Regions from separate parts of the Homo sapiens genome. Here all the other regions are linked to region 1. Evidence: promoter capture Hi-C in 16 types of primary human blood cells and fetal thymus (Javierre and others, 2016). All regions are on one chromosome and are shown on one strand. Each heading gives the region's core, a stretch centred on a gene start or on the middle of the fragment in contact. The rest is flanking DNA. Distances are from core to core; before and after follow the strand shown. Region 1 holds the start of NEK5 (NIMA related kinase 5). Region 2 overlaps DHRS12 (dehydrogenase/reductase 12). Region 3 holds the start of VPS36 (vacuolar protein sorting 36 homolog). Region 4 overlaps TMEM272 (transmembrane protein 272).

Region 1 (2,881 bases), core at 77-2,576:
CTTAACCTGGCAAAACCTCACTTTCCTAATTTCTAAAATGGAATAACAATACCTGTTTTGCAAGTTTGTTCTGAGAATGAAAGATACTATATCCGGTGTTTCGCACCTTTATAAAGCAGGAATGTCCTTAGGCTTGTGCACTTTTATAGTTCAGCCTTTCTTAGTGGGGACGTACTGCCCCCTAGGGGGAATTCTGGAAATATATGGGGGTGGGGAAGCTGTTTCCCCAAGATTCAGAGGCATGAGGTTTACAGGTGGTTGGGGCCTGAGATGGTAGGATTCTGCGATTCGAGAGACAGTCCCGCACAATAAAGGATTACCCCGCGGCCCTACAATCTTGGAGAGTCTTCCTATACATTCCTGTGCGTGGAAAAATCCGTTTGTGGCTAGAACCAAACTCTATTTTACATCGAAATGCTAAGTATTTTTGCAGTTTTAATGAACACTTCTTTTTTTTTTCGAGGAATGCAACTACATGTAAATCAAGGCTTGATTGCACTTCGGTTTGGAGGTTTACCAAGAATTGTTCACCATTTGGGAAAACCACGCGCTTCACTGGCCACGCTGCTCCTGGTCCCGGAGACCCAACAATCTGCATTTGCTGCCGTCACGTTCAGGCGACTCCCCAGGCGCGGCTACTGGCTACTTCTCTACATTTTCCAAGGGTAGTAGTGCCAAGCATTTTCAGATTGAAATATGTACTTTCTTACTTATTGCTTTCCTTCTATTTCCTCTTTATGCTACAGTTAGGGCATAATACAGTTTTGTTGTTGTTGTTAATGGGGTGAGCAGGGGGCTTGTTTTCGAATAATTTTACGTCAGGGTGGGAAGTCGGTACTGGGTTGCAGGGGGCTGGGAACCAGCTCCGCAGCCAGGAGAGGCTGCAGACACCGGAGGATCGGGTTCTGAGAGAGACGCATACGGACTTGGGGCCGGGGGTGACTCGCCGGGAACTGAGGGCCCGCGACCCTCCCGCCCAAGTGGCACCAAAGGGTGGAAGCCCCCAAATTAGGAAAATTCCTTCTCCCCTAGGGCCGCCCCTGGAAGCGGCCGCGGGTGAGTGGCAAGACGCTTACCCGTACCCGACCTCCGCGTGTGGAGCGTTGCCATAGAGACCGACGCGCCCTGGACGCTACACCCACACAGCCCAGGACGCTAGGCCTTTTCTGGGCCGCCCCCGCCGCCCCAGGCCGAAACTCCATCCCTTTCCCCCACCCTGCCGAGCTCCCGAAGCCCTGTGGCGGCTCCGGGCAAGAACTAAGGGCGGCCCCTGCAAGCGTACCTGCTCCGCCGGCTCCGCGGGGCCAACGAAGCGTCCCGGAAGGATCCGGGTTCCCGGGGCCGCTGCGCCTCCCTGCGGCCGGGGCGGAGCCGCGCAAGGAAACGCGGGCGGGGCGCGGGTCTGGAATGGCCTGGGGACCAGTCCACCTCGAGGCAGGGTCAGGCGCCAGGGAGTTTGGAGACCCGGCAGAGTCACCCCGCAACCGTCCCGTTGCCTTGGGTCGGGATTCCTTTGCTTTGCAGTCTACAGTAGCGCTCCCCGCTCTTGCTTAAGGTGCACCAGACGCTTCGCAAACGTTCTCTCTTTTCTTTACAACCCGTCAAGGCAGTAGTCTCCCAGTTTTACAAATGAGCTAAACTGATACAGGAAGAGTGTTTCTTGTACAAGGTCTCAAATATTGCCAAAAGGTGGACGTGAGACTGGAACGGCTTCCTACTCTTTGGGCCACAGCGGCGGCCTGCCAAGGGACTTTCTAACGAAACCGGCGCTGCCCAAGCGTCTGCACTCACGCCCAGTGCTCATCCCACCCTGCCCCATTCTGGATTTGCACATCAAGCTGCTGTCTAAAATGTTTAAGTAGTTGAAAAAAATGTAATTTTCAGCAATTGTAAATAGTGACGCAAGTTAAATATATCCAACTGAATCGAAACACTACAGTAATATGGTACCCTCCATCGTCCACCTCACACACACACACAAAAAAAACCCACAAAAAACTCTTAAAAATCCTAAGTTTACATCATTACTCTTCCTTCTTAAAATCATCTCTCCGCCGCCCCCTCCCCGTCCCTGCCACAAAAAATTTCTTCTTCTTGTAAGCACTCTAGTCAAGTTGGATTAGGGCTGAACTAAAGGCCTCATTTTGATCTAATTGCATCTTTAAAGTCTCTGTCTCCGAATATAGTCTCATTATTAGTTATTGGTGTTAGATTTCAGTGTGTGAATTGGGGGTGGCCGCGGCGGGGGTGAATGCAGCCCGTAGCAGGAGTCCAAAAGTTGTTTAGCAGTTGGAATATCCAATGTTAGTTTCTTTGGCAGTGAAATTCCCTCAAAATATTAGTAGGTATATGATCTACTTGTTTTTGTTTAATTACACGTGTCAGTGACCACACCCAAATTTCTTCCCTAGAATTCTTAGACATGCTTCATTAAATCATATCTTCATTCTACTTTCCTGATAGAATTTTACCCGTTATCTTTTTCATACTTGAAAGTCTTATTGATCATCCTATCATACTGCTGAAAGAAGTACAGAAATGGAAATTTATATTTCCTGCTCATAGAATTTTAGTTTTTCTGGATTAAATTGTTAAAATTACTAGTACTACACAATTGATCACAATAAAATGTATCACAATACTGATAATTATTAAATATAAAAAATAAAATTGTATTGAAAATTCATCTCTTTAAGACCTGGATGGGCTTCCCATGCACCGTTAGTTCCTGTATCCATAGATGAATGCTAACTTCTTGCTACAATGAAGTTTAACACTGATTCTCTTCCATTTTCTTAAGGCTGTAAGTGCTGAGAAATAAGTACATAGGAATGAAAAGTTTTGTTAAAAGTGTCCCTCAATTTTTGTCTAGTTGTATCTC
Region 2 (2,881 bases), core at 183-2,682, 330 kb before region 1:
TTTCAGCTCTCTACCCCTCCTAAACATGGTGGAATTAGATATAAGCCAAACAGATCCATATTATCATCATTTTTCATTTAAATATACTTTTTAAAGCCTGTGGCCCACACCACAGCAGGCTGGAATCCAGGCAAACCTCCTCCTGTCCGTGGCCTGAGATTAGTATTCTTGTTGCATCCTGCAGCAGCACCACCGAAAGTTATCAGCAGGCAGACAGCCAGCTTTCAATCTCGAGAACTGCAGCCCGCAGATCGCAGCGGCACTTGCAGACATTAGAGGAAGATTTAGAGACCCTCACACTTGCCGCCAGCACTAAGCCTCTGTAAGGCACCTGATGGCATGAGACTGGGGATTTCCATGAGAAAGGGAAAGGAACAGACACTTGGTGTGAAAATGTTATTTCAAAGTTGATGCAAAATATTCCATCCTAGAGAGGGGCATTCTTCTCTTTGACCAGGGTCCATGCCTGAGGGTGGGTACTGTCTGTCCCTCCCCAGCTTCCCTCCTACAGGCCCTCCAATTGTGGGGTCTCCTAGAGAAGAGGTAGGAATGGAATGAGGATGTTCTTTAGTGACAGTGAGCGAGCAGCCATGACTGAGGGTCCTTTTGGGGGTCAGGGTTTTCCATTCAGGGCAGCCTTATGGCTACACGATGGATCATGGGAATATGATCTATACAGCTGCACACGCCCTGCGACTGGAAAGGCCTCAAGCTTGGTTTAATGTCCTGCCTTTGTTGTGTAGAAATTCTAAATAACTTTTACACAAGGGTCTTGCATTTTCATTTTGCACCGAGCCCCACTAATTATGTAGCCAATCCTGGTTCCAGCTCTTTCAGAACAGAAAGACCACAAAATGTGAGGCAGCTCTGAAGGCTCGTGTCAGAAAGTAGCTCTCATCAAGACCCAAATGCTGCCGGTGTTTCTCTTTATTAGAGCACATCGGGTCAATGCATGGCTCCGTGGCACCCGGGTGACCCTTGCTGTGTGTTGCTGATGTGGGCTCCCTCTGAGGTGAGGAGACTGGAAGTATCACTGTCCAGTGTAATGGGCCTCTGCCTGCTGGCCTCTGCTGGTTTCACAGGCAGCTCAGGACCATGCGGTCAAGCCTCAGTGCCCCCACTTATCCCCTTGTCAAACCTAGCCATTCAAAAGCAGGGCCCAGCTCCCTGCTGGCCGAGGCTGCTTCCAAAGCAGAAGCACAAACACAGGCCCTCTTCAACCCAGGGAAAGCGGGTAGGAGTCCAGCCTCCTCACAGCTGACCATGGAGGCAAGGAAACCCAGCAGGAGGGGTGAGGAGCTGCTCACCTGGTTACCGCTCTCCCGGATGATCTCACCCCTGGCATCTTCTGCTGGGGCTTGATCTCGACAAACCAGGTGAACTGTGCCACCTGGTGGAATTCAATGAAACCATCTGTGAGTTACAGCGAGAGCTACAGAAACCAGCTCTTCCTAATGAAAAATGAAGACATATGGGCTCACAGTTGACACTCTTCTGTTAAGCCTAGATGGGTGGTTCCCAGAGTTAAGAGCAGCAAGGGCGATGGTGAGGGAGGTGCTGGAACCTTATTGCCTACCTGTGCTGACAGTGCGTCTGGAATAACATCCTGATTTTTTGAGGGCCTGAACACATCAAGGATAAGAAACATTGATCTGGGTCACATATGCCTCCCTAGCATCTAGCATAGTAGCTGACCCAGATGTGTTAAACCTGGCTGCACTTTAGACTCATGTAGGGAGCTTTTAAAGATCTAGGCGATAGGCCCAGGACTGGGTATGTTTTACAAGCTCCCCTGGTGATGTAATGTTCAGCCAAAGTAGACAGCCACTTGCCTAGCATGTAGTAGAGACTCAAGTATTGACTGAATGTTGAGTCCATCAGCAGCCCTCATATTATCCCAGCAAATGCCACACCATCATCAATCAAGGTCAATTTAAAGCAGAATGCCTTCGCCGTGGCAGCTAAGAACGAATCGTTATGGAGTCTGCTTTCTTTACTAAAAATCACCCACTTGATTAAATGGGGTGTTTCATGGGAGGCTACAGGCTAACCACAACACTAGCCCCTCTTCTCTCCTCCTCTCCGCACTTCAGAGTGCTTCCCAGCTGCTAAGATGCAATTAATCCTCTCCCTGACTTGGCAGATAATTAAATAAAGCTTCAAATGATATAATAGTCCCCTGAAAAATGCCTAACTTGGATTTAGAGAGAGGAAAAAAGAAAACATCTTCAGCATCTTAAAAAGTGATAAATTCACAACCTAGTTCCCCACCTTCTGCTGGAACATCCATTTTTCCTGAAGAGGCTCTGGAGAGATGCAGCAAACTTTTCTAGCCACTGCAGAGCCATTTGGTGACCCAGGATCGTTGAGCTCATGCAGGAAATTCTGGCATTTACCATGAGGAAGACTTCTGCTGACTGAAGACTTTACAGTGCACCTGAAGCACCTCTTTATAGTCAAGCTTAGGGGAGGGAAGCGGGAGGCTGCTCTAGCCCTGGAGGCTGGACCCCAGCAAGGAGGAAGTTTAGTTCAATGCACTCCTCTCTCCAGGTATTTTGGGGGCCTTGGTTCATAACTACCATCCACATCCAAATTGCAGTGGACTTTGAGGCTCCCCCTCCCCTTGTCTCTCACCCCAGGAGAGTCTCATTGAGAAGACATGAGTTAGAGACCAGGTGTTCATGTTTTTGTTTTTGTTTTTTTAATTAAATTCCACTGGGGATTCTGATGTCCAGGGTTTGCTTGAGCCCCTCGCTGTTCTTAATCAGAAAACACTGGGACACGTGGGCAGGACCCCAAGCTCGCCTGAGAATTAATTAAGTGTTGAGGAAAGGGCTCCTGTTGCTCTAGCCACCTGGAGCTCAAAACTCAGAAAGCTGGC
Region 3 (2,881 bases), core at 218-2,717, 320 kb after region 1:
AACCCCGTCTCTACTAAATATGCAAAAATTAGCCGGGCATGGTTGCAGGCGCCTGTAATCCCAGTTACTCAGGAGGCTGAGGCAGGATCTTGAATCTGGGAGGCGGAGGTTGCAGTGAGCCCAGATCGCGCCACTGCACTCCAGCCTGGCGATAGAGCGAGACTCTGTCTCAAAATAAATAAATTAATTAATTAAATTAAGAAGTGCTAAGGCAGTAAGTGAAGTTAGGTCCAAGCAAATTATTTAAGGAAAAGACCTTTACTCACTAATACAGGCAACACAGCCCATAGAAAATGCCCTAAGAGAGTCAGAGGACCTGGGTCCAATGTCACCTGTGCCTCTAAATAGCTGTAAGCACTTACCAGGAAAAGCTGAGTTGAGGAACTTATATCAAAGTACAGCGGAAAGTGTCGTTAATAAAACGGCAAGGGAAGAGAGGTAGCAAATTAAAACTTCTGGAAACCAAAAATGCTTGTGGGTAAATGAGTTTTAAAATTTTTCTAATTCCAGTTTATCCATTTCAATCCAGGACAAGATATTTCATAGTTTCAGTAAAGTATCTACAAAATATTTACTTACACTTCCTATTTCTCCTCTCGATTTGCAAACGCACCTTCTAAGATTTATGCTTGCACTACAAGGCACGGTCTACTATTAATATAACACTTTACAAAACACGCTCAGAACGCCTTTCTAAAGCAATTAGAAAACAAAACAAAAACCCAATAGCCTTTGGCAAGGGCATTCCAATGAAGCACTGATACCTCTTTAGGAAATCCTTTCGAAGCAATCCCTCACCCCTCTGCCCAGATATGCTAATCCCTCCGACTGCATAAGGTCCAAGCTAAAGCTTCCGCTGGGGCACGGACTGTACGGCCACCGCGCCCTCCTCACAGAAAGGCGAAACGGGGCTGTCCGGTGCCGACGCCGAGGTTGGTGTCGTCAGGGGGTCTGGAACCACGCCAAGGAAGTCGACTGCCGGATCGCCGCCCGGCGCCCGCAGACGGCGAGCGCTCCTTCTCCCGGGCACTGCAGCTGTGCGCTCCCGGAAGCATTCCGGGCGGAGGGAAGCGGCCGCGATCCGCGCCTGCTGGGAACCGTGCCAAAGTTGGGACCCGCGCTGGGGAGGCAGCCGAGCGCCCCACGCCACGTGCTACCGACCGGCGGGGAGCGCAAGAGCGCTGCACCCCGCACAGAGGCCTGCCGGGCCGCCGAGGGCCGTGAGCTAAGCCGGGGACCGGGCCGCGCCGACCCGGGCCGCGCTGAGCCGGGCCGCGCGCCCACCGGGGGTCCCTTCCGCCAGCCCGTTGGGAAGGTTGGCAGACGCCCTACCTTCTCCTCGCCATCGTAGATTCGCACCCCGCGCTGCTGGATCACCAGGGTCTCGTTGATCTCCAGGAGGCCGCTGGTCCAAACGAAGCGGTCCATGGCCGCTGCCACCCAGCCCCGGCCCTCCGAGGCCGCGAGCAGCGCGCCAGGCAGCCTGCGGCGCCCCCTAGCGTCGGACGGGACGGAAGCGAGTCGGGGCGGGTGAGGGACGGAGGGAGCGGCCTGGCAGCGAGCGGGCGCGGCTGCGAGGTGCGCCCGGGGACGTGGAGACGTGCGTGGAGCGCCCCCTGGCGGTCCATTAGCCGCCGGCCTTTCAGAACCCTTGATCAGCAGGCGGTCCACCCCATTCTAAATTCAGAGCTTACAGGGACGCGAGGGAGCCCCGACCACAGCTTGGACTTGCTTATTGTGCATTATGCCTGCATGTTTGTGGCAGTTTTCTTGTCAGTGCCCAGAATGTTGCTACATTCGCTAATGATTGTAAATAATCATAACCCCTCTCTTTCAAATGAATATTTATGGCACGCATTGTTTCTGTACAGCTGCAGTCAGTACTACCTGTGCTGCTCTTTTTTTCCCTTTAAGATTATATTGTAACACAAAGGATAAATGCTTGAGGTAACGGATACCTCATTTACCCTGATGTGATTATTATACAGTGTATGCCTGTATCAAAATATCCCATATACCCCAGAAATATATACACCTATGTACCCACACAAATTAATTTTTTTTTAACTGGGGGAAACAGATTTTATTTAACCGGGCTTGATGCGCGCGCCTGTATTCCCAGCTGCTTCCGAAGCTGAGGCGGGAGGATTGCTTGAACCCAGGAGTTTGACACCAGTGGGCGACATAGAAAGACCCTTTCCCCCTCCACCCCAACTCCCCCACGCCACTCCACTCCCCCACCCCCAGGCTCAGAAAAAAAAGATTATTTTTATTTAGGCATTTTCAATATTAATACAGACCTCATGCGTGAATTTACATTTCAATATGTAGTTCCTCTATAATTTAGCTGTTTGTTGGTCTGCGCAAAGCCATCCATGGCCGCTGCTCTCACCCACCAGGCGGCCTCGTGCCCCTAGCCATTTCATTTTTGTATTTTGCTTTATAAATGGAACACCTGGCCGGGCGCGGTGGCTCACGTTTGTAATCCCAGCACTTTGGGAGGACAAGGCGGGCGGATCACAAGTCAGGAGTTCGAGACCAGCCTGGCTAACATAGAGAAACCCTGTCTCTACTAAAAATACAAAAAATTAGCCCGGCGTGGTGGCGGGTGCCTGTAATCCCAGCTACTCGGGAAGCTGAGGCAAGAGAATCGCTTGAACCCTGGAGGTAGAGGTTGCAGTGAGCCGAGATCGCACCATTGCACTCCAGTCTGAGCGACAGAACGAGACTCTGCTTCAAAAATAATAATAATAAATAATAAATAAATAAATAAATGGAGCAGCTTATAGATGTCCTTCTACAATTGATACATATTTTTCTCTTTAGGATTATTTTCTTACAGTGTCTTCCTAAAATAGAATGACTGCTTTAAAGGTTGTGA
Region 4 (2,881 bases), core at 155-2,654, 300 kb before region 1:
TTGTCAAAATCATCAAATGTCATAATCTGCATAATCTGTGTAGGGCACTAAACGCAGGGTCTGGCACATAATAAACACCGATAAATGCTGGCCATTATCATTACTATTATTATTTTCCATTCCTGATGGAAGGAGACCCAGGCTTCCCCTTTATTTCAGCCCCCACTTCGGAATCAAATGAAGAATCGAGAAAACAACAGGTGAGGTATACACTGTGGTTCTCATGGTGTCTGAGCAGAGATGAGACTGTTCTACACCTTAACTCCCAAGTGGATGCGGCCTTACTCCCTGGCCCTGTTCTCAGGCTGTGCCCTGGCTTCATCCAGTGAGTCCGCTTCTCTGGATCACCACTCTAGGTCTAAAGAGGCTCACTCTTGCTTGAGATCTAATGAGGCTCACTCTTGCTCGAGGTCTAATGAGGCTCACTCTTGCTCGAGGTCGAATGAGGCTCACTCTTGCTTAAAGTCTAATGAGGCTCACTCTTGCTCGAAGTCTAATGAGGCTCACTCTTGCTCGCTGCACCTCAGAGCCATGACTCTCAGGGTCTCAATGGCCGCTCTAGATCTCACAAACCAGGATCAGTACAAATGGCGCCTGGAAATCTGCATTTAAAAGCAACTTCCACCCTGGCATGGTTGCTCACACCTGTATTTCCGGCATTTTGGAAGGCTGAAGCAGGTGGATCTCTTGAGCCCAGAAGTTTGAAACCCACCTGGGCAACATGGCAAAACCCCGTCTCTACAAAAAACACAAAAATTAGCCAGGCGTGGTGGTGCACCTGTGGTCCCAGCTACTGGGGAGGCTGGCTGAGATGGAAGGATCGCTTGAACCCAGGAGTTCAAGTCTGTAGTGAACCATAATCCCGCCTCTGCACTCCAGCCTGGGCAACAGTGCAAGACCTCATCTAAATAAAATAAAATAAAAGCAACTCTCAGGTGATCGTAGCCTGTTTCTGTAAGCTGGCTAGAGAATCTTCAGGGGCTTCCTACAGCTGTCTGCTCAGCATGGTGTGAGGTGCTGGGGTTGGGCTAGGTTGTAGGATCCACTGGGATGGAAATCATCAGCAGTTACCAGCACGAGGCCTTCTTTACCACTTGGTCCTAATAAGGACACCCAAGCCACAGTCAGGAATTGGGGAGCCCCACTCTCGCCTGATCCCCCTGCCTCCTGGGGCATCTGGTTACCCACTCCTCAGTCTTTGGAGCTCTCTGGAACAGAGGCTGAGCTTCCTGGTGATGCCGCTGTTGCGATTGCAGCGGCTTGACAGCAGTGACCACCACTAGTTAATACTGTCCTGCCTTCTGGTCTATTGAGCACCAATTCCAATGCAACTCAGAGTGCCACATTCTGGCTTCTGATGCCATGAGAGTCTCCATCTAGAAAGTCAGTTTGAAAGAGCTGGGTGAAAATAAACTCAGCTTGAGGGTCCAAAGGAGAAAATAATTCAAAATTAGAGCAATAGTGGGAGGATATTAGAATCAAAACGTTGGAGTCAAGTCATTCTTTATGCTAAGAACACAGATAGGCTGATTCCTGACTTACTGAAGGTTGGGAAAAGACAGACTATTGGGAAGGGTGCCCTCCTCAGGGTGGCTTTTGGGTTGCTGGCTCTGGATCCTCACTCCCCTCTTGCAGTGCATTTCAGGGTGGGCTGCTCTCACGACTGCTGATTGCTGCTGCCCGTGATTGTCAGAGGGAGCAGCATGGTAGCAGGTGTTAAAGATACGCTGCCATCCGGTTATCAGTCAAAATAGGTAGCTGGGAGAATTCAATGCATTTTTAAATGGGTAATCTTGATAGGAAAAGTGGGTAGCTTTTGGTCTGTTCTCAAGGATCTCCGGAGTCTGTTTCCTATGAATAGCAAGTATTAATATATCCCCAGATCTTTTGCTTAGTTTAGTGCAGAAACTGAGACTGGGACCCAGCAGTTTTTCTCTGCAACACCATCCTTCGGGGCTCCACTGAGCTATCAAATACCCAGAAGGCAACTGGCAAAGAGTGCAGGAAGAGAAACTCAAACTAAACTCCTCTTTCCAAACTGCCCTTTCCACCTCCCTGTATCTGTAATGGTGCCCAAACCCCAGTCACCCAAACCACTTCTGCCCTCTCCTGGTATGTTCAGTCATTCTGCCTCTGCCTCGTTTCCACCCACCCCTCTTCTCCAGCCCTGCACAAGCACCCTGCATTGCCACAGCCACCCACTAATCCCCAGAGGTCACAGCCAATAGCAATTTGCATGAGGGGGTATTTTTATTAGCACTTAATCCCCTTTGAATATAGATGAACTTCTTTATAGATATTCAGCTATTCATTCTTGCATTCGACCAAGGTTTGGGTAGATGCAAAGTGAGCATGAGAAGCCTCGGCAATGCGGACTTCACCACCTCTTAAGGGAGATGAGATGTGCACCCAAGGGACAGTACAAATCAGTGTGTGGAAGGGACCAGCAGGGGCAGCGCACAATGCAGTGAGGAAGCCTGGAGGAGGAAAGAGTCCCCAGGAAATCAAGGAAGGCCTCAAGGAGGAGGTGATATTGGTACTGGGTGTTGATGGATGGGTAGGATTTTTGACGGGCTGAGTTGTGGGGAGATGGCTTTTCTGTCAAAGGAAAAAAGCCCAGAGGAAACAAAAGATTTGAGAGACAGAGACACTCAGAGTGGTTTGGGGGAGTGGCAAATCATGAAATGGAGCTGAGCGTCCATCATCCATCATAACAGAGAAAAGGAGATCAGATGGAAACTAGATAGTCAGAAGAGAGGGCATTTCTGTTTTGCATAAGGGTATCTGGATTTTATTAGGAAGATAAAGAGAGTTGTAGGGTTTGCAATTGGAAAGCAGCTATCAAATAATCATCAATAATATCATCAAATAATAATCAAAG

The links. Contacts are between HindIII fragments. The CHiCAGO score rates a contact against its expected background, and 5 or more counts as called.
Region 2: a fragment that was not itself captured here is called in contact with the fragment with the promoter of NEK5 in region 1 in 1 of 17 cell types (naive CD4 T cells); the score reaches 6.5 in naive CD4 T cells.
Region 3: the fragment with the promoter of VPS36 here is called in contact with the fragment with the promoter of NEK5 in region 1 in 7 of 17 cell types (erythroblasts, M0 macrophages, M2 macrophages and 4 more); the score reaches 8.4 in erythroblasts.
Region 4: a fragment that was not itself captured here is called in contact with the fragment with the promoter of NEK5 in region 1 in 9 of 17 cell types (erythroblasts, naive CD4 T cells, naive CD8 T cells and 6 more); the score reaches 7.8 in erythroblasts.

Annotation. Positions count from the first base shown.
Region 1 is chr13:52,127,747-52,130,627 of GRCh38, forward strand. NEK5 (NIMA related kinase 5) reads right to left here and starts at 1,327. Exons shown (of 24, transcript NM_001365552.1): 1 at 1,283-1,327. It overlaps LOC101929657 (a long non-coding RNA gene), which reads left to right and starts at 1,149. Exons shown (of 2, transcript NR_110306.1): 1 at 1,149-2,881. The HindIII fragment of the contact is 11,669 bases long and covers 1-2,881 here.
Region 2 is chr13:51,796,519-51,799,399 of GRCh38, forward strand. All of the region lies in intron 2 of DHRS12 (dehydrogenase/reductase 12), which reads right to left. Among named protein-coding and RNA genes, the nearest start is that of DHRS12, 6.2 kb to the right of the region's middle. RefSeq lists enhancers at 535-1,063, 1,134-1,213. The HindIII fragment of the contact is 1,445 bases long and covers 711-2,155 here.
Region 3 is chr13:52,449,167-52,452,047 of GRCh38, forward strand. VPS36 (vacuolar protein sorting 36 homolog) reads right to left here and starts at 1,468. Exons shown (of 14, transcript NM_016075.4): 1 at 1,333-1,468. The coding sequence starts at 1,428. RefSeq lists an enhancer at 1,054-1,634 and silencers at 1,155-1,614, 1,655-1,714. The HindIII fragment of the contact is 2,912 bases long and covers 849-2,881 here.
Region 4 is chr13:51,830,517-51,833,397 of GRCh38, forward strand. The region is part of intron 2 of TMEM272 (transmembrane protein 272); the gene reads right to left. Among named protein-coding and RNA genes, the nearest start is that of TMEM272, 13 kb to the right of the region's middle. The HindIII fragment of the contact is 4,301 bases long and covers 1-2,881 here.